7 separate regions of the Homo sapiens genome follow, and all the other regions are linked to region 5. Evidence: promoter capture Hi-C in 16 types of primary human blood cells and fetal thymus (Javierre and others, 2016). All regions are on one chromosome and are shown on one strand. Each heading gives the region's core, a stretch centred on a gene start or on the middle of the fragment in contact. The rest is flanking DNA. Distances are from core to core; before and after follow the strand shown. Region 1 overlaps SKAP1 (src kinase associated phosphoprotein 1). Region 2 overlaps SKAP1 (src kinase associated phosphoprotein 1). Region 3 overlaps SKAP1 (src kinase associated phosphoprotein 1). Region 4 overlaps SKAP1 (src kinase associated phosphoprotein 1). Region 5 holds the start of LINC02086 (long intergenic non-protein coding RNA 2086). Region 6 overlaps SKAP1 (src kinase associated phosphoprotein 1). Region 7 overlaps SKAP1 (src kinase associated phosphoprotein 1).

Region 1 (3,145 bases), core at 301-2,800, 460 kb before region 5:
TAAAGTTTTTCTAAATTGCTTTAATAAAATTGTGATAAGATAAAAATTACCAAAAAGCAGGAAACAATACACACACATGCAAACATACATTTTTGGTGAAAATCACTATATTTCCACAGTCAGAAATTTTTAAATTTTATTGGTCATTCAGCATGAAGATGGCAAAAATAAAATAAAACACATTAATTTTATAATGAGGTAAAGATTCAAACTGAGCACAGTACGGAATAAGTCTTTCTTGCCCCGACCAGGTCCTCTAGTCCTTCAATTATTATTGTTACTATCGTCACCAATATCTTAGAAATCCTTCCAGAGATATGCAAAGCATCTACACACAGGAAGATTATTTTGGATAGCAAGATGAACATGGGAAAATAATTTTTTTTCACTCTACAGTTAGATCTTTTTTTGGGATTTCATGGAAGGAAGTGAAGAAAATCAGTCGAAGAATAAAGAGAATGGGAATTTAAACCATAAAATCGGAGACTATAAGTAAGGAATTTGATTGTGTGCTGCAATTGACAAGCATCTCACCTATGAAGTGAAATTGAGAAGGGGAGGAATGAAGGATGGAAGCCAAGCAAAGTCTGTATCTAAGATGAGAGTGGCAACAGAGGGGAGGGTGTGGCATAGCAAATATGAGGACATGCCAAGAAATAGGGTCTTCGTTGGCATGAAATGAGCAGGTAACAAAGAAAGGCTGGAACCCAGCATAGCAACCATGGCTCACATGCAATACAGAAGGAAACTGCAACACCAAGAAGGATCACCATCTCCTTGATGCGTCCTACCTCATAGCTGCGCCTATCCTGGGAGGTCAGTTCAAAGCAGGATTCTTTCTTGGAATCTCTTCGCAGGTGGGGGGCCATCCGTACACCGTAGCCCTTAATGAGGAAGGTCCCTTTGGGCTGCTTGCCTGCAAGACAGGAAAGCTCCCTGTATCCCTAGAGAGATGCAACTGCCAAGGGAAGGCATCCTCTCTGGTATGTAAAATAAAAGCACAGAAACAGCTGTTACATCCCTGAGGAACCACAATAGTCAAGGAAAGGTTATTAGAGAAGCTTAAGAAGAGGCTACTGCGACAGTAAGGCAGATATCACTGCCAAGCTAGGGAAATGCAACGTGAAAGGTTATTTTGCCAAAAGAGTACAACAGAGACAGAGAATTTATTAGAATGTTAAGAGATCTATAACAACAGAAAGAAGGAATTATTACAGCAGAGAGAGTGTGGCTGTAAATGTGAGGCTCTTGAAGGCTATTATAAAGCTGAAACATTATTATCAGGGCCAGCAGAGCTCACATTTGAGGGGAGGGACAGCAGCACAGGGGGGCATTATAAGGTCCCAGAATCGCCTCCCATGCCCTATGTAGCATTTGGGCTAAACTTCTCTTCCCCTTCCCTGCTGGTCAGGTGGGAATTTATGCCAGAGGGAGAATAATTAAAACTCAGTATTTTATCCTCCTTGTAAGAGGTCAACCTGGGAAGTAGCAGAATAACGTTGAGTATTATTAGATGACGAGGAAGGAGATAAAAGGAAAAGGACCATAAGTGAAGAGAGACTATTCTGCTTGTCACTACTTAAAAAAAATGTTAGAAACAGAAAAAGAGGAGGTGACTCTCAAGAATTTTGTATCCTCATTGTGTGGGTCAGGCAGAACACACAGAGAACAGGAACCACAGTGTCTGGGATGCTTTGAGCTCTATATCATGTGAAATGAATTGCTTAATAAATGCCTTTTGATGATGATAATGATGACAAGGATGGCAGTGCGATGCCAATATTAAAAAAGAAAGAAGAAGAAAAAAGACTGTGCTCACCTGGTTGAGCTAAAAGAAATACACAAACACTATTCTTACTAAGAAAATGTCATGGGCACAGTAAGAAATAACTGGCGAGAAGGGAGCCATGGAACAGTGCTTTTTGACACCAGAATCTTTTTTGTTAAAGTATCTCTCCTTGTTCTAACTGGCCACTAAAATGTTTTGTTGTTTCTTTGGTCACCAGATTTTATTTCACCCTAATGGCAAAATGGTCAATAAAAGCTTCCGAGTCTCTTGCTCTTGCTCTCCCTGCTCCTCTCTCACCGTGAGTATGGAAGATTCTGAATGAACAGATGTGACACACCTGGTTTTATATCTAGATATGCCAACCACTTATTTAAATGCAAAATAAATGATGAACATATTTACAGTGAGAAGTGTCATATTAGTTTGAAGTTTTAAAATAAGAAAAGAACAACTGGCTGGATTGAATGCCTATAATTTAGAGGAGAAATTGTGGTTGCTGGGTTGGAGAGTGGGCTGGGGGTTGGAAGGACACAGAGGACTTGTAGCTCAGTTTACAAACTATGCTGTTATCCTTCCCAAACAGGGCTTTAGCCTTTGCCCCTAGATGCGAAATGTTCTGAGGAATCTAGGATGGTGAAAGGTAGGCAAAGGTCTGTGATAACTACTGCAGGCAGTGTGAGACAATTGCTTGGGCAAATCTTAAGGATTTCAAGTCACTTAGCAAAGCTGCAGTTTTTATTTATTTATTTATTTATTTATTTATTTATTTATTTATTTATGGTTGAGACAGAGTCTCGCTCTGTTGCCCAGGGTGGAGTGCAGTGGCGTGATCTCGGCTCACCACAACCTCCACCTCCTGGGTTCAAGCAATTCTCCTGCCTCAGCCTACAGGCACATGCCACCATGCCTGGCTAATTTTTGTATTTTTAGTAGTAGAGACGGGGTTTCACTATGTTGGCCAGGTTGGTCTTGAACTCCTGACCTCATGATCTGCCTGCCTTGGCCTCCCAAAGTGCTGGGATTACAGGCGTGAGCCACTGTGCCTGGCCCAAAGCTGCAGTTCTTTCCACTACCTTAGTGCCACAGGTGCAGGAAGTACAAAGGCAACTGGGTGGGTGTCTGATTATTCCCTATATTGGATATCCAGGCACTGGGAAAGCACTAAGTTTGAGGAAGGAGAAACAGAAAATGATTGCAAGGAAAAAGAAGAGTCTACTCAAACTGTATCGCTGGCCTCTGTACGAAGGTGCACAGTACAAGGAAAGCCCCAAGAAGAATTGATGCTTTTTAAACTTTGTCTCCCTCTTGCGTCTTAGAATTACTCCTGGGGCAGTCCAACTCTGTAGAAGAGTATCC
Region 2 (2,899 bases), core at 164-2,663, 410 kb before region 5:
ACTTTAACTACATTATGTTCTTGGAGGGGATATCTTAATGGACTAAGTATGAGGTTTGAAATATCTAGACTTCCTGGAACCACAGGTTCAATTCCCAGCTGAATCAGCTCAGTCCTCCAGTCTTCACTGGCAGATAAAGTAAGATGCTAACAAGCTTACTGTGCATAGATCTATCAGATGAGTTGCAGTAACTCATAATCTTGCCTATTTTTTTTGAAGTGGACATTTAACTTGATTTTGGTGGTTTTGATCTTGAAAAATTCCATACAGTCTGCATGGTAAACTTGATGCTTAATTTATTCAAAAGGGATGTGCTATTTAGGGTGAGCTCGCACCCTCCACCAAGTTTGAGACATTCTTAAACATCTGTGGGGTTTGAAATGGGCAGGTTGTTGCGATTCCAATTACCTCTTCCTAACTCCATACCTTCCAGTTTGCCTGGACTTGAGCTTCCTGTCTTGCCTCACCCTTTAGTGTATCTTCCTCTTGGCTTGACCTTAGCTTGGCTCTCTAGTTTTGGTTATTGAGCTTGCTTTGAATTCTGGCACAGGTGAATTCTTCAAGCCCTACTTAACTTGGATTCTGGACTTTTCACTACTCTGACTTCCAGGACTGGCATGATATCTCAAGTTTTACTTCAGTTTCTGTGAATGGAGAGGGAACATGGTATAAAAAAAGAGCTCTAGGGCTTGGGAAAAATTAAGAGTTTCCAGAAAGACTATTTCCTAAACTGCCCCTGTTTATTCTTGTTCTGTGCGCTAGTCCTAGCACTGACACAAAGTAGTTCTGCAATGATGAGCAAGTCATTTGATTTATCTGCAGTTTGGTCTGCAGAATGGGTAGGCTAGACTACATGAGTTCATGGCTCCTTCTCTGTCCTAAGATTCTTGGATCTTTCTTGGTTTCTGTCTGGGCACCCCATCACTCAAGCTCCAGCTCAGTACAGAAAGGGACTGAAAAATGTTTTAAAACCTAAATTTTATGCATCATCATAGCCACTAATTAATGCCAATTGAGCACTAACACCTTGTGTTAAGAATTTTAGAATTCTTTACCTCTAGTGGAAAATAAAAGAATTTTAGAATTTTATAGAATGCAGAGAGGATTGGCATTTTGGAATTTTTTATCAAGGGGAGATTCCATAACATAGTCTCAAAGAGAAGCTCATTTTTATTTTTATTGTGGGGTCTGAAAGAAATGAAGTTGACTGGCTAGTAGAGAGTGGTGGTGAAGAACATGGACTCTGCAGCCAGAGAGCCTGCTCTGAATCCAGGTTCCAACCCTTACCAGCTGTGAGACTTCAGCGAACTGATCAATTTCTCTGTGTTTCAGTTTTATCTTATAAGGTTGTTACGAGGATAAAATGAATTACTGCTAAATAGTGCTTAGAACTGTGTCTGGAACACAATATGCACTATGTAAATGTTGGTTAAATAAATAAAAATATTGGAGCTACAAAGTCTCTCATTCATTTCAAGGTGTATTTCTGTGTATATCCTGATCACTAATAAGTAGCAGAGATATTATGACATATATTTAATATCTACAATTAAGTTGCAGGCTTATGCATAGAGAAACACTGATGTAATTCAGTATTGTTAAGATTGCAGGAAACATAATTATATAAGATGTGGGGGTGGGGTAGGGTGTGTGTGAGAGAGAGAGAGAGAAAGACAAAGAGAGATAGAGAGATAGAGAGATTGAATGAGCATGAGAAATCTTTCTAATACACCAATAAAAAGTCTGTCTCTAAAATACTTAATTTTTTCACACCGTGTATTTGTGTCTCACTAAAAAACGCAATATAGAACATCTGTATTGTTAATAAACCTCCCATAGAGAGCACTGACACTTGAATAGCCTGAAATGTTTTCTGACATCTGACCAGAGCTAATCATAGATGCTTCTATAGGTTGGTTTCTGCTTTTGGAGCATTATTCAAATATTGCTGCAGTATTGTGTTAAATTCTCAAATCATACCCAATAGATAGCAAAGGTGGGCCTTGAATAATTTAAGCCTTGTATTAGGTTTTGTGTTAGAACTGAGGAAATAGCCTGGTGAGCATTTATTAGACTCCACTTATGTATCAGTTGCTGTTCTAAGTGCTTTACATGTATCAACTCATTCAGGTTTCAAAACAACCTTATGATGTAGGCGTTTTCCCATTTTATGAATGAAGAAACTGAGGGATACAGAGTTTAAGTAATTTGCTCAAACTATACAGCTAGTGACTGCCAGAGCTCAGTTAAGCCTTTTTGTTTAGTGCCTGGGGTTTTGGGCCAGGTCCTAGGCATTTTGGAAAACTGAAGAGAGAACTAGGCACCACAGAGCTGGGCTAAAGGAGCTGACACTGTGGTGGGATTCCTAATAGAACCCTGTGGTTTGCTGGCACAGGGCCCTCTACAGGCAGGTGGGGTAAGAGCTGGGGCAGATAAGGAAAGACACCACAGTTTAACATCTGATGCTCAGCTCAGAGAGGAGACCTCTCTGCCTCTTCTCAGCACTGCCTTCAGGTCTGGAGTGAGTCTCTGTACTCTTGGTCGTGCATCCCTGAGGGTGAGGTCTGGATCCTACTCTCTTTACACCCAACACTTAGCACCATGTCTGACACATTGTAGGCACCCAAAAGACCTGCGGTTAAGTATGAATCTCTTTTTTCAACTTAGGGTTCTGAAGCTTTAATATGAAAATTTTATTTATTTTTGTTTTTATTACGTAGACTTGGAAATAAAGCAAGAGAATGATGATCATCAACTACCTAGAAGCATCAGTTAAGTTAGCAGTACTAAACCTTTTTTTGTCATCATAAAACATTTGCGGGCCTGGCGTGGTGGCTCACACCTGTAATCCCAGCATTTTGGGAGGACGAGGTGGGCAGATCGCCTGAGGTCAGGAGTT
Region 3 (3,077 bases), core at 375-2,874, 440 kb before region 5:
TCTGATGCAGAATCTGAGCAGCACATCCCACATTACCAAAGCTAAGAGTTCCATAAGACCAACTACTAAAATGTTGCATGATTTAAGATGGTAGAAATACTTGTCAAGGAAATCCTTCCTTCCTTCCTTCCTTCCTCCCTCCCTCCTTCCTCTTTCTTTTCTTTTCTTTTCTTTCTTTCTTTCTTTCTTTCTTTCTTTCTTTCTTTCTTTTTCTTTCTTTCTTTCTTTCTTTCTCTCTCTCTCTTTCTTTCTTCTTTCTCTCTCTCTCTTTCTTTCTTTCCTTCTCTCTCTCTCTCTCTCTCTCTGTCTCTTTCTTTTTTTGAGATGGGGTCTCACTCTGTTGCCCAGGCTGGAGTGCAGTGGCTTGATCTTGGTTCACTGCAGTCTCCACCTCCCAGGCTTAAGCAATCCTCCCACCTCAGCCTCCTGAGTAGCTGAAACTACAGGCACATGTCACCACGCTCAGCTAATTTTTGGATTTTTTGGTCGAGACAGGGTTTAGCTATGTTGCCCAGGCTGGTCTAGAACTCCTGGGCTCAAGCAATTCACGTGCCTCGGCCTCCCAAAGTGCTGGGATTACAGGCGTGAGCTACCACACCTGGCCAAGGAAATCTTAAATAGAACAAAAAGATCAAGAAAAGGAAACCAGAAAAGATAAAAAGTATTAGAACACAGAAACAGAGGGAAGGACATTATCAAAGAAATAATAACATTTCTCAAAATGATAGGAATCTTTTGATTGACATGGTCCTCCATACACCCAGCACATGAATGAAAAGGGACTCACATATTGGTAATCACAGTGATATTTCAGAACAGAATTCTTAAAAAGAAGATCCTAAAACCTTCTGAATCAGGGGGGAGAAACAAGTCATACAAAGCATTAAGAATCAGAATGGCACTGAAATTCTCCACAGCAACAATGAAAGCTGGAAGCCAATGAAGCAAAGCTTTCCAAGTTCTAAGGGAAAATGATTTCCATTAGCATTCTCACACCCAAACTAACAGTTAAGTGTAAAAGTAGAATACAGAGGTTTTCAGACATTCAAAGTCTCAAGAAATTGACCTCCCAGGCATCCTTTCTCAGGATGCCACCACAATATGTGCTCCATCAAAATGAGGGAGTCCACCAAGAAAAAAGGTGACATTGGGTCCAGAACGTGGTGCTCTGATGAAGGAAAGGGATGAAAGGGAAGTCCCAGGATGACAGCTGTGCAGGAGGCCTGAGAGCAGCCAGCCCAGAGTGGGGAGGAGGATGGAGATCTCCAGGAGAGACTAGAAGCACAAATGGAACTGATGGATCATCTGGTGTGTTTGATAATGTGGAAAATTACAATTCTGCAAAGTTTGGAAAGAATTAGGGATGGTGACTTAGAAAACTATGCAAATGAAGAAAGTCAAGGCATTTGCCAACTCTAGGAAAAACAAGAATTTTTTTTACATTTCCTGGTTTATTATAAAGGATATAACAAAGGATATAGGTAAAGAGATGCATAGGGTGAGGTATGGGGGAAGGGGTGTGGAGCTTCCATGTCCTCCCTGGCTATGCTACCCTCCAGGAACCTCCACGTGGTCAGTTATCTGGAAGCTCTATGAACCCAGTCCTCTTGGGTAAAAAATAAAGACGTTTTTTTTTATACCCCTTGGTATAAAAAATAAAGAAATAAAATTTAATTATACAATTTTATAAGGGTTGACGTAAATAATATTTACATAGTTAATGTAAACACTAAATATTGATTAACTAAAAATTATGATATAACCACACTCGAAACATGAAGAATGGGGAATTGATGGCTGGGATGGAATAGGAATGCTGACTCCTCCCCTATCATAATATAAAATCAATAGGTAATGTCTGAAATTGATAAACTAAAAAAATAGCTGTCTAATCATATTATTTAGAAGTGTGGAAGAGACACATCAGAATGGATGAAAAAGTTAATTTTTAAAAAATGGAAAGGGGTTGCCTCTGGAAAGCAGAACTCCAGGGTGACTGCTTGTAGTATTATTTGATTAAAAAAAATTTTTTTGGAAATGGGGTCTTGCTATGTGGCCAAGGCTGAATTCAAACTCCTGGGCTCAAGTAATCTTCCCACTTTAGCCTCCCAAGGGACTACAGGTACACACCATTGTGCCTGGCTTTATTTGATTTTTAAGAACTATATGCATACATTATTTTGATAAAAATAAAAATAGAAAATTTTAAAAATAGTTTTTCAACCATTTCACAGTACAGCCATGTCTCCATATTTATATAATGATGTCCATTCTGAGTGGCTGATTACACAAAATTCCTAAGCTTGGTATGAAGGTACGTGGCAAAGGAATCCAGAAAAGAAAGAAGAAACCAGTGTAGAATGAAGAGAAACAATGCTATTAAAACCACTTGCACAGGTTGGGCATGGTGACTCACGCCTGTAATCCCAGCGCTTTGGAGGCCGAGGCAGGCAGATCACTTGAGGCCAGGAGTTCAAGACCAGGAGTTCTGGCCAACATGCAGAAACCATCTCTACTAAAAATACAAAAATTAGCTGGATGTGGTGATGCATGCTTGTAATCCCAGCTACTCAGGAGGCTGAGGCACAAGAATTGCTTGAGCCTGGGAGGCAGATGTTGCAGTGAGCTGAGATTGCGCCACTACACTCCAGTCTGGGCAACAGAGGAAGACTCTGTCTCAAAAAAAAAAAAAAAAAGAAAAAAAATTTACATAAAGTTATATTTGAATTAGATATTGTCTTAAGAATACTTTAATAATCTGTAGTCTGTATGTAATTTTAAGACTCATTTACAATTCTAATATTGTACTTTATACCATACGTCTAATTTGCCTTAGCTCTTCCTACATTGCAAGGGGACCCACAAAAGCAGGAGGTCTCTTTCCACTGGAGAGCTGTTTTATTTCATAAGGAATAAAAGGTATGGAATCCCATTATGAAATTTGGGGTCAGAAGCCCAGGGTATAAACTTGGGTTGCAATTTACAAAGTATTATTGTATTACTGGGCATGACCAGAATTTGATCAAGTACCTGTAGATCAAATCAAATCAAGAAAAATTTATCTGGAACCTTCCACG
Region 4 (3,246 bases), core at 311-2,810, 480 kb before region 5:
CAAAGGACTATGGGAGAAGGAGATCATTAACTAACATTAAATATTTACAGATCACTCCTAGTAGGATGCCGTTCAACAATATGATAAATATATTTATTTATTAATAAAAGAAAATCAGGCAGGTAATTTTTCACTTGGTTTGTAAGTAAGCAGTGCAGAGGTTTCCCGCCAGACTTTCCTGATCCAGGGCAACTAACTATCTAGTTTTTCTCTTCATTATGCATTTGAAGGATCAGAGTAAATCTGTGACTTCTGCCTATTTACAAGAAAGGCTTAGTCAGCCAGCAGGCTTCTGGATCACAGCTCACTTTTCGGCCTTCTTTGTCCATAGGAACTTTGTCCTGGGAACTTCCCACCTAGGTACTATATGAGGTAATCACCAATAAATACTGAAACGAATAGCCCAGTCTTTAAGTGGAACCAAGGGGGTGTCTCATCCATTACAACTAAATTCTGGGTGGGCTGGCCCTTTTCCAGCATCTCATTTGTAGACCTTGAACATGTCTGCCAAGATTTATCTGCAAGCCCCAGGGGAACAGAAACCAAAGTGATCTGCATTAAAAATGAAAGCAACTGAAGACGACAAACCAAGCTTTAGAAGCAGCTGGAGAGATTTACTGAGCTTCTCAGCAGAACTAGATGGCAATGATGCCACAGGACAGCCATCGATTCTTAACAATGAAGAATTTGTATTGATCTTCTACCCGGAAAGGTTAAACACTAGAGTACAAAGTGGGAGAGGATCTGGGGATTTGAATGGCAGGAGAGCTAATGCCCACTAGACCAGGCATGCTCCTTTTTCCTTGGGGTGCTCTGTATCAGAGCTGTGAACAAAGCACCTACAAAAGATGAAATTCAATAGATGGGAGTCAGGAGTCCTGGGTTCTAATTAAAATTCACATGATTTTGGGGGACTCTGTTCTATAGATTTCCACCTTTCCCTTTATTCATTTTACCCTCCCATGAGCAGTGATAGTATTGGTGGCTGAGGATAGGGCAAGTGGGCAGTAGGGGCACAGACACCCTCCCTATATTTGCTTTTTTTCTACTTATTCCTGACTTACGAGCAATTTAAATAATAAAGGCACGGAGGGACAAAATCCCTATATGTCTCTGGAAGAGAATTTTGGTAGGAATCTTAAAGGGTACAAAAACAGAGGAGGGAGAGAACTATTTAGTTAAAACTCAGATATTGCAAACAAAAGTAAAAATGTCAACCATATAGAAATTCAGGCATGTTTTCTTCACACATAAAATTGTCTGTGTGTGCAGTAGACAACAGAGGGCAGCAAACAAGATAACTACTGTGAAAACATTCTGCCACAGAGTTGATAATATGTTTGGAAGAAAAATACTTTGGGAGAAATATGTTAGTTATTGAATAGACAAAGCATTCATTTTTGGAAATATTAAGTACATGAAATAATAGAGAAATATCAATCCCTGAAAAGTGAAAGTAGTTTTCCCAGAGGATATATTATGAATTTTCCATTTTAATGGAGTTGATTAATTACCCCAAGATTTTGACTAAACTCAGGAATGAAAGAATATTAACATCAATATTTTTCATGGATTTATATATGGTAGAGAAAACCATTTTTGTAAAAATAGATTCTAAAACCATAACAATATTTCTAAGTGGTAAGGAGACTAACAAGGTTATCTTGGTCTTTTCTGGCCTAGCAGATAGTCACTTTGGAGTACGGTTCCCTACTGTGTGCCTGGATATGGGATAGGTCCTAATATTGAGTGCCTTTTTGGTGTATACATAAAAAGTGATTTGACATTGGGTATATATGGGCCTGGGAGAACATCTGGAAAAAGATCTATTCTAAAAGCACAAAAGATCACAGGGAAAGCAAGAAGCTAGGAGAAAAACAGAAGCCTTCCAGGAAAAAAATAAAGATAGAAAAGGTCTTTGATATTAAAGGCCAAAAGAAGACAGAGTTCAGGAATCCAGGAGATGGTTTAGCTCAGCCCAAGAATAGGGAACTTCAGTCAGAAGTAGAACAGCTCCAAAAAAACAGGCAGAATGAAGGGCTAAAAACTGGGAAAAGTTTGAACTTGCTAGCTAGCTAGAAGTATTCTCTATTAAGGAAATCAGTGAGGGATAATTCCTTAGCTGGGCAAGGTGACTCCATATTGCAGACTTCCTGTTTAACACACATGTGATATGCATTTATGTGTATGTGTGCATGCAACTTCACTAATTCATTCTCATCATCCAACAGACATGTATACAGTACCTACTAAATGCCAGGGACTGTGTTAGATACTGGGAATCCCACATTGGCCACACATGAGCCCTCCTCTCAAGGGTACCTTCTAGTCGGGGAAGCACCATGGAAAAAACAGTTACACAAATGTTTATTTATGATTATGATATGTCTGTGAAGGAGAAGTTGAGGACGCTGTGTGTAATAGGGAATCTAACATAGTTTGAGGGGTCAGAAAAGGCTTTTCTGGCCAAGTGGGTGTTAAAGACCTTGAAGAGGGGAAGAGATAAGTTGGAGGAGGGCTTCATTCCTGAAGCTTGGCACCAGGAAGAGCTTAAAAGCCCAGAGTCTGCAGGGCTAGTCCAGCTTCTCCCTAAACCTGCCCAACTCATCCTATAAACAAGAGAATGCATGAGGAGACTTTGCTTTCTTTTCTTTTCTTTCTTTCTTTCTTTCTTTCTTTTTTTTTTTTTTGAGGCGAAGTTTTGCTCCTTTTGCCCAGGGTGGAGTGTAATGGCATGATCTCGGCTCACCACAACCTCTGCCTCCTGGGTTCAAGGGATTCTCCTGCCTCAGCCTCCCGGGTAGCTGGGATTACAGGCACGTGCCACCACGCCCAGCTAATTTTGTATTTTTAGTAGAGACGGGGTTTCTCCATGTTGGTCATGCTGGTCTTGAACTCCCGACCTCAGGTGATCCGCCCACCTCGGTCTCCTAAAGTGTTGGGATTACAGGCATGAACCACTGTGCCCGGCCGACTTTGATTTCTGTAGAGCAGAGAGAGGAACTGAGAGCCCAAGGGTGAGGCTTGCCTCTATGGGCTGGATTTAGATTCCTTTAGGCTTACACTACTCTGGCAGCCGTCTGAAATCAGAAATGGTGCAGCATTCTGACCATTTAATTAATTCAAAACATCCTAATTCTCATTTTAAGGACATTATTCCATCTAATTATTTTTTTTCCAGTCTGTCCATTTGGAATGAAAAACAAAAGAATAAAGCTTAATGCCAGCATTTCTCAATGTCTCTCC
Region 5 (3,128 bases), core at 534-3,033:
AGTCTGAAACTCTCTGAAATTGTGGGATTTGGTGAGTACTACATACGCACATTTTTTTTCTGGGTAGAGGGGAATCAATATTGTTCATCAAAATTTAAATTATCATATCAGGGAGTGGCCCCAAAATGTTAAGAACCTCTCATCCACCATTCTTACACAACCAACCAAAAATGTAATGCAGAGGGAGGCATTGTAATATACTTGGGGATCTGACAAGACAAATTAAAAGGACAAACAATTTATTGTTCCACAAGGTTGAACAGATACTGTCACCTGGACTTCTTGGAACACCAGGAACCAGGTCACAGGTGCTGGGGACTCTTAGACTGAGACCAGTCAGGCCACAACACCCAATCACTACCTCCTCCATATTTGCCTGTGCAGACAAGGAGTATGCAAGGTCTCTGTGTCTCTAATTAAATTAATATGGAGCTTTTATCCACTGGGGCCTGGACCTTCCGCCATTTGTCACCTTGTCCAAAGCTATCTCATACCGAAAGAGAATTGAACGTTTCAGGAAACACTTCCCCTTTGCAAATGCCCTTCTCTTGGGGAATGGGTATAGTGTCCAAATCTCCAGCTCCCACCATTTCTAGCCAGCCCTGAGGAATTGTCTGAGACCCGGGAGCCCAGAGATCATCAGCGGGGGCCAACAGCCATGACCTTTGAGTTTTCTTGGCCGCTGGGCCACAGAAAGGGTGCAAGAGGCAGCTGGACAGGTAGACAGAAGTAGGCACAAAGAAAGGGGCCCTGGACGGTTGCCAGAGAAAAGACGGAGAATGACAAAGAGAGAAGTGAAATAGCTGGACTGGAGGCGGGAACTGGAGCGCAGCAGGCAGGTGGAGTGGCCAAAACCCGCGTGCTAAGAAGAGCCCACAGGGGCGGCAGGGGCGGCAGGGGCGGCAGAGGCGGCCAGGCGCGTCTCCGTTCCCCATCTTTACGGGGAGGTTAATGACCTCCTCAGCGCCCCCTCGTCCCAAACCACCCAATTACAACTCCTCAGGCTCCTTAATGATCTGATTAATTGGTTGGTTAGGGCGGATGGAGGTGCTTCTCTGCCGGGGACCTGGCGGGGTTTCGCTAGATCATTTGTTAATTGTGGGAAGGAAGGACGCATCCGGGGAGAGGAGATCCAGGGCTGGAAAAGTGGGTGAGCGGCGCTGGCGCAGGCGGCCAGGAGAGAGCAGATGAACCGTTCGTTAGGAGCAGCGAGGTAGTCGTGAGCGCTGAGATCCAGAGACTAGGACCCACTCCCTCTCTGAGCAGCAAATTGGGAAGAAGATGCTCACTCGGTAAGGGCGAGGGAGCCCGGCATGGCGCCCCACCACGGGCTCGGTCTATCTGCGCGCCAAGATCCCGCTTGGGGCGAGGCGTTGGGTCAGCGTTTAGAGCCACTCCCTGCGCTGGTGGCTGGACATAGCCTCCCTATCCCACCTCATCTTCCCCCATCCCCGACAGAGGAGGTTGTGAATCTACAGGCCCTTGACGTTGAGGCGTCGGAGGGCGCACCTTTGTAATTGCGGCCTCCCTTCGCCCCTTAAGTGCCGCTTCTGGGCGCCTAGGCTGGATATGAAAGCCCCGTTCCTAATCCTCTGCTCTGGTCCCCTCCTCTGGACTGCTGGGACTCTAAGCTAGGCCCTCCCCAGGTTCCATCACTGCGGCGCCAACCCGCGGCTGGGCTGTCCGCAAGAGGGAGTTGAAGGCGCGCGGAATCCCGAGGTGCAGCTGACCCTCCTCTCAACGCCGACTCTGCCGCTCCCGCCCGGCCACCTCCCTGTCGGGCAGACTTCCTGTTCTCCTGCTCACAGCAGGGAGGCAGTCGCCGAGCCGGTCAGCAGCGTGCACGGAGATCTTCACTCTGCGCCCAGCCCCGGGACACAGGTGCAGATCTCCAGCGGAGCACTGCGGAGTGCGCGCCGTCGAGCACTAGGGAATCCTAGACGGAGGACTTGGTCCATTCCACGCAGTCCCAGGCAGGTCCGCAGCGGAGGGACGCAGCGGTCTCCAACTCCTGGTCACGACTTCGGCGACCCTCCACCCCCTGAGAGACCTGGTCCCACGGAGCTGTCCCCCCAGGAGCCGCAGCGGGAATAGCAAAGCAAAGGGGACCACTCAGCCCCCAGGAGGAGCCCTGAAGCAAAAAGGTTGCTGCGGGGAGCCACGTTCCCTCTGGTTCACCTCGAAGCCCAGGAGCTCCGGTCCCTGGACCAAGGAGTGAACAGACCTGAGGAAGAGGTAAGAGGAGGTTTAACGAGTAAAAATTTGGACTCTCTCCTCTTATACTGCTTTAAAGCATGAGGAATTTGGGCCCTGACTTCTCTCTCCTTGAAGAAGTTTCTCGCGTTCTGGCCAGTCCTTGCGTGTCTGCACCCAGGGCCGGCAACAATTTAAGGAGGAACTTTACTGGGTGGTCGAGGCTTGAGAGTTCATAGTTACCTTTTAAAAAAATCATTACTATTACTTAATATCTAGGTTATTTTGGACTGAGCCCCCATCTTCGCTCCAGCCCAAATTCGGCCTTTAACAGTACTAGGGAGTGCTTCAAAAGAGGAGGGTCGTGGAGGAAGCGACTCAGACGGCCCCAAGAGGAGAGATGGGAAGGAGTGAGGGCTTTGGCCTTAATGATCTCTGCAAGTTAAAGGCCATTATTCCTATAACTACAGCTGGGGAAAGGGCAGAGGAGGTAAGGACGGAAAGTGGGCTGAGGGTGGCCACTTTGGCATCTTCTTGAGAAAGGAGACATTTGAATTCCCGGCCCAACTAAAAGCCCTGAGATGCTTGCCCTTTGCTTTACAGACAGTGATGGCAAAGAAATACTGCCACCAGGGTGTTTTTAAAGGTGAAGGTTGACCTGATAAGCACTGAGATCAGACAAAGGAAAAAAAAAGTAAAGCATTTGGTCTTTCAGTTTTCTGGCTAAATCTGGCATCATTTTCCAGACACAAACTTCTCTGATTAATCCAAATAGCTCTCAACCTGAAGTTCAAGGAATTTGAAATCCTCTGAAATTGTGGGATTTCACAGTTCTAAAAGGAAGTCAGCTGTCACTTTCTGAGAAGCCCTGGGAGGGGAAGGAAGCAAGAGGAGGTATATGAGGAAAGGGGGTGAGAGGCCCCAGATCTAGCTCT
Region 6 (3,001 bases), core at 413-2,912, 500 kb before region 5:
GGGTTCAAATGATTCTCCTGGGTTCAATCTGAGTAGCTGGGATTACAGGTGCCTGCCACCACACCTCGCTGATTTTTGTATTTTTAGTAGAGATGGGGTTTCACCATATTGGCCAGTCTGGTCTTGAACTCCTGACCTCAGGTGATCTGCCTGCCTCGGTCTCCCAAAGTACTGGGAATACAGGCATGAGCCACTGTGCCTGGCCACCCCTTAACTTCTTAACAAAGTAGACAAGGCCCTGCATGACCCAGTCCCACTCACTGTTCAGCATTGTTACTCACCTCCTAGATTTAGTGTTCCTTAGTAAAATAGAACTTGTCTCAGCTGCTCCCATGGGCCACAGGCTCCCTCACCTTGGAACCTTTCCTCTGCCTGTTTAGCCTCTACTTCCCTTCTCATTTCATGGGGCTTACTCCTAAGCAGCCTTCAGATCTCAGTTCCTGAGTTACTCACTCCCTAGAAGCCTCTCCTTGACACTCTCTGACTGTGTGGGGTCCCGGTTACACGGTCCACAGTGCTGTGCCCTGTGCTTTCCTGGAAAAGAGCTTGTGATTACACTGCCTTCTATCTGCCTGTCTTTGTCTCAGTGTCAATCACTAGTTGGAAAGTTCTGAGGACTGGACCTTGTTGGTTTTGTTTGCTTTTGTGTTCTCAGCATTCAGCACTATATCCAGCACAGAGTGGGGCCAAATAAATACTTGTTAAATGAGGCCGGGCGCGGTGGCTCACACCTGTAATCCAGCACTTTGGGAGGCCGAGGTGGGTGGATCACCTGAGGTCAGGAGTTCGACACCAGCCTGACCAACATGGTGAAACCCTGTCTCTATTAAAAATACAAAAATTAGCTGGGCGTGGTTGAGGATGCCTGTAATCCCAGCTACTCGGGAAGCTGAGGCAGGAGAATTGCTTGAACCCGGGAGGCGGAGGTTGCGGTGAGCCAAGATCATGCCATTGCACTCCAGCCTGGGCAACAAGAGCGAAACTCCATCTCAAATAAAAACAAAACAAAACAAAACAAACAAAAAAACTTGTTAAATGAGATTATGATGAAATGAAGGGGGCAGTGGGAATTTGTATTCTTAGTTGAGCAGATTTAGTTACAACTAACTCCAAGATATTCCCCTGGTGATTGAACTAGTTGTGGCAGAAAGAGATCAACTACCTTTGGAGACAGTCTCCTCAAATGGCTCCTTATACAACAATAAGAGTCTGAAATGCCACAAGAAGTGAGACTACTGAGTTGATCCTTTTAGGACCAGGGAAGTGCCTTGTGAAAATCAGCCTTAAATAACTAAATGTGTCTGTCTGCCACCTCTTCCTACACCACACCTTCTTTTCTTGTTTTGTTTTTTGAGACAGGGTTTCGCTCTGTTGCCCAGGATGGAGTGCAGTGGTGCAAGTATAGCTCACTGCAACCACTCCTGGGCTTAAGTGATCCTCCCGCTTCAGCCTCCTAAGTAACTAGGACTACAGGTGCATTTCACCATGCCTGGCTAGTTAAAAAAAAAACTTTTTTTTTTTTTTTTGTAGAGATGGGGTCTCCCTATGTTGCCCAGGCTGGTCCTGAACTCCTGGGTTCAAGCAATCCTCCTGCTTGTTGGGATTATTGGAGTGAGCCACTGTGCCTGACCCACCACACCTCATTTCCTCCCTCTCCCAGGCCAGCTTCTCCCTACAGTTCGCAACGTCTTATGGGAAATTACCTATAATTCTTTAGCTTTTTTTTTTTTTTTTTTTTGGGAGACAGGATTTCACTCCCTTCACCTAGGCTGAAGTGCAGTGGCATGATCTCGGCTCACTGCAACCTCTGCCTCCTGGGCTCGAGATTCTCCTGCCTCAGCCTCCAGAGTAGCTGGGACCACAGGTGCATGCCACTGCCTAATTATTTTTTATTTGCTAATTATTTTGTATTTTTTTTTTGTAGAGATAAGAGTTTTGCAATGTTGCCTAGGCTAGCCTTGAACTCCTGAGCTCAAGTGATCCCCCAGCTTCAGGCTCCCAAAGTGCTGGGATTATACCCTGCCCAGCCTGTCAGGGCATTTTTAAGCTCCTCTTGGTACAAGATATGTTACTGTCCATTTTCCGACACTGAAATTAGGGCAGTTTCTGACTTAAGTTTTCTTGTAGTGTTGCCTTGCTGTGAAGGGGAAATACATACTCTGTCTACCTCTCACATTGTAACTCGTAAAAACTAGCTTTAGCTCTTCTGCTATCTCACAGGCAGAGAGTGGGCAGTGTTGTCTGAGAGTCTTTTGATCCAAGTCAACTTGCTGAAATGTGTGAAATGTGGTCTTCCACCTGCCAGATGCTGTCATCTGCATCACCTGCAGGGGACAGTAAGGCATTTGCTCCCCGGGGGTTGTTCAACGCTCCTAACTTTGACTAACACTTTGTAGCACCCCTCTTTAGTCGTAATGCCAGGAGTAGGGATGAAGCCTTGGGAAGGTGCTCTCTGCCAACTCGAAGAGGGTGCGAACAGGAAGCAGATGAGTCTCAGCAGGGTACCTGCAAAAGCCAGGCTCCCAGTCTGTCTGCTCTTGCTCCAGGGGAACACTGACCCTGCCGACTGCAGATGTAGAAGCCTCGCCACAGTGATGAGAACTGAAATGAGTGAAATCAACTCTCTGCCCTTCAAAACAAAAGAGCAGGCAGAAGTGTAAGGAGGATGGCACAGTCCCAGAGACCATATGCATCCTGCTGTGGGAGCCTGGGAGCTTAATCAAAGCACCTACAGGTCCCGGGATCTGACTGTCTTTTCCAGATTTCATCCCTTGGCTGTATACCCGAAAAGGGCTGCAGGGCTGAGATGTTTAAAGCATGAATGGAAAATTTCTAACCTTCTCTCCCACTACCACCCCCATGCGTTGCTCCAGCCCAGTCTGAACACCACGAGGTATTTTAAAATAATTTCTACTTTGATGAATTGCTGGGGAGTCCACAATTGCTCATAATCAAAGGGAGAAAAATGCAAATGAGATCCGGCCGAGAACTATCACCACCA
Region 7 (3,288 bases), core at 707-3,206, 400 kb before region 5:
TTAATCTGTACTAATGGGCCTGGAGGAAGCGCAAATAAAACCGAGGAATAAGTACTTGTTTTGCAGTACAATGAATGCTATTAATATATATATAAAACAGGCTTCAGTGATGCATAAGCTATTGTATTCTAAAAATATTCCTACATTTTTGGCACTTTAAAAATGTATTACCTCACAAAGGACTATCAACCTATCTGCAGACTCTTAACCTGGGCTAGCATTAAGAAAGGAATCATTTCATTCTGCTTTTGTTACATGTACATAGATTTTGAACTAAGCAGATATGGCACCTGTTGGTTTTAAATGTCTCCTCCTCTAAGAAAAAGAAAGAAAAAAGTTCAGGAGAAGAAAAAGAAGAGATGTTAAATAAAAGACAAGAAACAAGGAACTAAGAGAATAAAATTATTTTCCCCACAGTGTGCAATGAAATCAAGCTACACTAATTCTACTTATAATAATGTTAGAAAATGGTTAGCCTTAATGCCTGATAATGACCAGAGCTAATGTGGTTCTGCTTTCAGTGTGGATAATGTTTAAGGAAGTAGCAGAATGCATGGCAGCTTTCCTGGACTATACAGTCAACTCCAATGAAGCCTTTTCTCCAGCTTGAGTCATAACCATAAATACTGCCCCATCCCCACATTCCAGTAACAAAGTCCTTCCTTCCTCCTTTGCCCCTAAACAAAGGGGACAACAGTGTGTTCGGTGGGAACATCTTGAAATAAGATAACACTCCCCAAATGGAAGGAAGTCACAGGGGAGATTGACGCCATAAAGGCAGTTCTATCCTATTGAAACGCCAGCAGATGGGGTCATAAACATTTCCTTCTCCCCTTGCTAACAGCCACCAAGTCAGCTTCATCTTTATCTTTATCTTTATCTTCCTGTCAGGTCATAAATACCTCTCACTCAAGCTTCACTCACAGCTGGGCCATGCCAAGCAAGTTTACTTCCTGTTAAAGGTTCCTTTCAGCAAACATTAACAAATAGTTGGGGGAAAGAAAACTGAAAATTCTGCTGATGATACACAGTTATAATATTCCAAAGGAAGCTTGGAAACCTCAAAGAAAGGGTTTGGCCAGACTAAGAAATGACCAAACTGCCTAGCAAAAAGCATGGAGATCCACTTAAAAGAAGATGCGTTCACAGGGAAAATGAGTCAAATAATTAGTTAAAACTTATATTTACATCCAAACAAAATAAAAGAGCTGAATAGTGTCATGGGCTTTCATTCTTTCTTCTAGAACCTCCAAATGATGCATGGATGCTTGCCATTTGTTCCTGAGTCTAAAACCTGGACCATAATCGTAGAAAATGAAAACAGAAGATTTCTAGGAGTAGTAACTCAATACAAAGTCATGCTTAGGCCAAAGGTTAGAGAAAGAACACACCCCTTTACTTTCAGAATTTTGGCTCATGAGGAAGGAGTAACCTGACTCTCTTTCCTTCCTGGGGAACAGTTTTACACTTGGGAAACCATCTGCCTGAAGTACTGCTGGCAGCTCCAAAATTATAGAATCTAAAATGGTAGGAACCTGGAAAATAGTAGGTATCTTCCTCCTTGACTTGGCTGGAGCAGCTGCCCCTCTTGAATTTCTGGGATATAAGATTACAACCAAAAATGACTGTAGTCTTTCTAAAACACAACCCACAATCTGATTTTTTTTTCTTTTTTCTTTTTGTAAAAGCATCATTTTAAGGAACACATTCTGACAAAATAGTTAAGTCTTTTAAAATTACGATAGTGACAGGTTGCTGTTGATTACGAGAAGTAGACTTTTGCTCCAACAGGGATTGTTTAAAAGTGCCTTTATTATGCTTTAGAACGACTGATCCATACTGGCTTATTTCACTCAATCTTTCAATTTTTACATGTGCTTCTAGATAACATGTGACTTTAAAGAGAGAAAAATGAAGACAGCACTTACTATAATAAGTTTTCTATGGTAGTTATAACAAATGGGTTTGAATTCCAGCTCTGACACTTTACTAGCTGTGTGACTTTGGGAAAGTTACTTAACCTCTCTGTGCTTCAATGTCCTCATCTATAAAATGTACAATAAGAGGCCGGGTGCGGTGGCTCACACCTGTAATCCCAACACTTTGGGAGGTCAAGGTGGGTGGATCACTGGAGGTCAGGAGTTCGAGACCAGCCTGGCCAACAGGGTGAAACCCTGTCTCTACTAAAAATATAAAAATTAGCCAGTGTAGTGGTGCATGCCTGTAATCCCAGCTACTCAAGAGGCTGAGGCAGGATAATCGCTTGAACCCAGAAGGCAGAGGTTGCAGTGACCCAAGATTGTGCCACTGTACTCCAGCCTGGGTGACAGAGCTAGACTCCGTCTCAAAACAACAACAACAACAATAACAAAAAACAACAAAAAAACCCACAAAAATTTACAATAATAATGCCTTTCTCAACGGGTTGCTATAAATTAAAATACATAAATCACTTAGAACAGAGCCTGGCACATTGTAGGGGCTCTGTACATTTTAACACACATATAAAATGGAAGACTTAGGTAATTTCATTATCCGTACTGTATCTAAAGCAAAGGATATTGGTTATATTCTTAAAAATCTTTAATTAAGCTGAATATTATACTTCAGACTAGCATTCAAAGGTTTCCAAAAATTAGGCTGGTTTACCTTTACTGTCTCCTCTCATCATCCTCCTACAATTAAGTAACCCTTGTTAGACCGGACTATTTGGTGTTTCCTGAACACATTCTACATTTCCCCACACCTACACCTTTGTGGGTATAGCCCCGTTGCCCTGGAGTTCACTATTCTCACTTCTATCTTCCCCTATCTCTACCTGTTAAAATCATAGCATAGCAGAGGTTCTCTCATTCAAACCATAAAGCTTTATTTTATTTTTTATTTTTATAGTCATCCTTCAAAGCCTGATTCAAATACGGTTCTTCATGGAGTTCTAGAGCTGGAAGAGCTTTAGAGACTAAATGATCTAATTTCTCCTTTTACTAAGGCATGCAGAGATTAAGTGATCTGCCCAAAGACATCAAGCTACAGCTTGGACCACATTTCAGGTCTCCTAACAGTGCAGAGATCTCTGAGAGTTAATCACCCAATCCTGCTGGTCTTTTTCATCACTCTAATCTAAACTGACTGATCTCCTTGGAGCTGCTATGTACTTACAGTACTTATCACACAGCCTCTTGAATTTCAGTTACTTGGGTGCATAACTTATCTCCCACGTCATCTCTCATGTGCCTTTGACACCTCTGTCTATCCCTGGAATGCTTAGAACAGTCTTAACCAGAAGGC

Evidence for each region. Contacts are between HindIII fragments. The CHiCAGO score rates a contact against its expected background, and 5 or more counts as called.
Region 1: a fragment that was not itself captured here is called in contact with the fragment with the promoter of LINC02086 in region 5 in 1 of 17 cell types (M0 macrophages); the score reaches 5.7 in M0 macrophages.
Region 2: a contact is called between a fragment that was not itself captured here and the fragment with the promoter of LINC02086 in region 5, in 1 of 17 cell types (M0 macrophages). The highest score is 5.8, in M0 macrophages.
Region 3: a fragment that was not itself captured here is called in contact with the fragment with the promoter of LINC02086 in region 5 in 3 of 17 cell types (M2 macrophages, M1 macrophages and erythroblasts); the score reaches 6.1 in M2 macrophages.
Region 4: a fragment that was not itself captured here is called in contact with the fragment with the promoter of LINC02086 in region 5 in 3 of 17 cell types (endothelial precursors, M1 macrophages and M2 macrophages); the score reaches 6.0 in endothelial precursors.
Region 6: a fragment that was not itself captured here is called in contact with the fragment with the promoter of LINC02086 in region 5 in 1 of 17 cell types (M2 macrophages); the score reaches 5.5 in M2 macrophages.
Region 7: a fragment that was not itself captured here is called in contact with the fragment with the promoter of LINC02086 in region 5 in 2 of 17 cell types (M0 macrophages and megakaryocytes); the score reaches 5.6 in M0 macrophages.

The regions. Positions count from the first base shown.
Region 1 is chr17:48,183,932-48,187,076 of GRCh38, forward strand. SKAP1 (src kinase associated phosphoprotein 1) reads right to left here. Exons shown (of 13, transcript NM_003726.4): 7 at 792-916. Among named protein-coding and RNA genes, the nearest start is that of MIR1203, 29 kb to the left of the region's middle. The HindIII fragment of the contact is 983 bases long and covers 1,060-2,042 here.
Region 2 is chr17:48,226,519-48,229,417 of GRCh38, forward strand. The region is part of intron 4 of SKAP1 (src kinase associated phosphoprotein 1); the gene reads right to left. Among named protein-coding and RNA genes, the nearest start is that of SKAP1-AS2, 66 kb to the right of the region's middle. The HindIII fragment of the contact is 2,523 bases long and covers 153-2,675 here.
Region 3 is chr17:48,204,807-48,207,883 of GRCh38, forward strand. All of the region lies in intron 4 of SKAP1 (src kinase associated phosphoprotein 1), which reads right to left. Among named protein-coding and RNA genes, the nearest start is that of MIR1203, 50 kb to the left of the region's middle. The HindIII fragment of the contact is 1,352 bases long and covers 949-2,300 here.
Region 4 is chr17:48,162,728-48,165,973 of GRCh38, forward strand. The region is part of intron 10 of SKAP1 (src kinase associated phosphoprotein 1); the gene reads right to left. Among named protein-coding and RNA genes, the nearest start is that of MIR1203, 7.8 kb to the left of the region's middle. The HindIII fragment of the contact is 1,940 bases long and covers 591-2,530 here.
Region 5 is chr17:48,640,844-48,643,971 of GRCh38, forward strand. It overlaps LINC02086 (long intergenic non-protein coding RNA 2086), which reads left to right and starts at 1,784. Exons shown (of 8, transcript NR_189645.1): 1 at 1,784-3,128. All of the region lies in intron 1 of LINC03057 (long intergenic non-protein coding RNA 3057), which reads right to left. RefSeq lists enhancers at 383-1,381, 1,382-2,378. The HindIII fragment of the contact is 12,737 bases long and covers 1-3,128 here.
Region 6 is chr17:48,141,472-48,144,472 of GRCh38, forward strand. The region is part of intron 11 of SKAP1 (src kinase associated phosphoprotein 1); the gene reads right to left. Among named protein-coding and RNA genes, the nearest start is that of MIR1203, 14 kb to the right of the region's middle. RefSeq lists an enhancer at 2,347-2,416. The HindIII fragment of the contact is 9,940 bases long and covers 1-3,001 here.
Region 7 is chr17:48,243,629-48,246,916 of GRCh38, forward strand. The region is part of intron 4 of SKAP1 (src kinase associated phosphoprotein 1); the gene reads right to left. Among named protein-coding and RNA genes, the nearest start is that of SKAP1-AS2, 49 kb to the right of the region's middle. The HindIII fragment of the contact is 1,815 bases long and covers 1,050-2,864 here.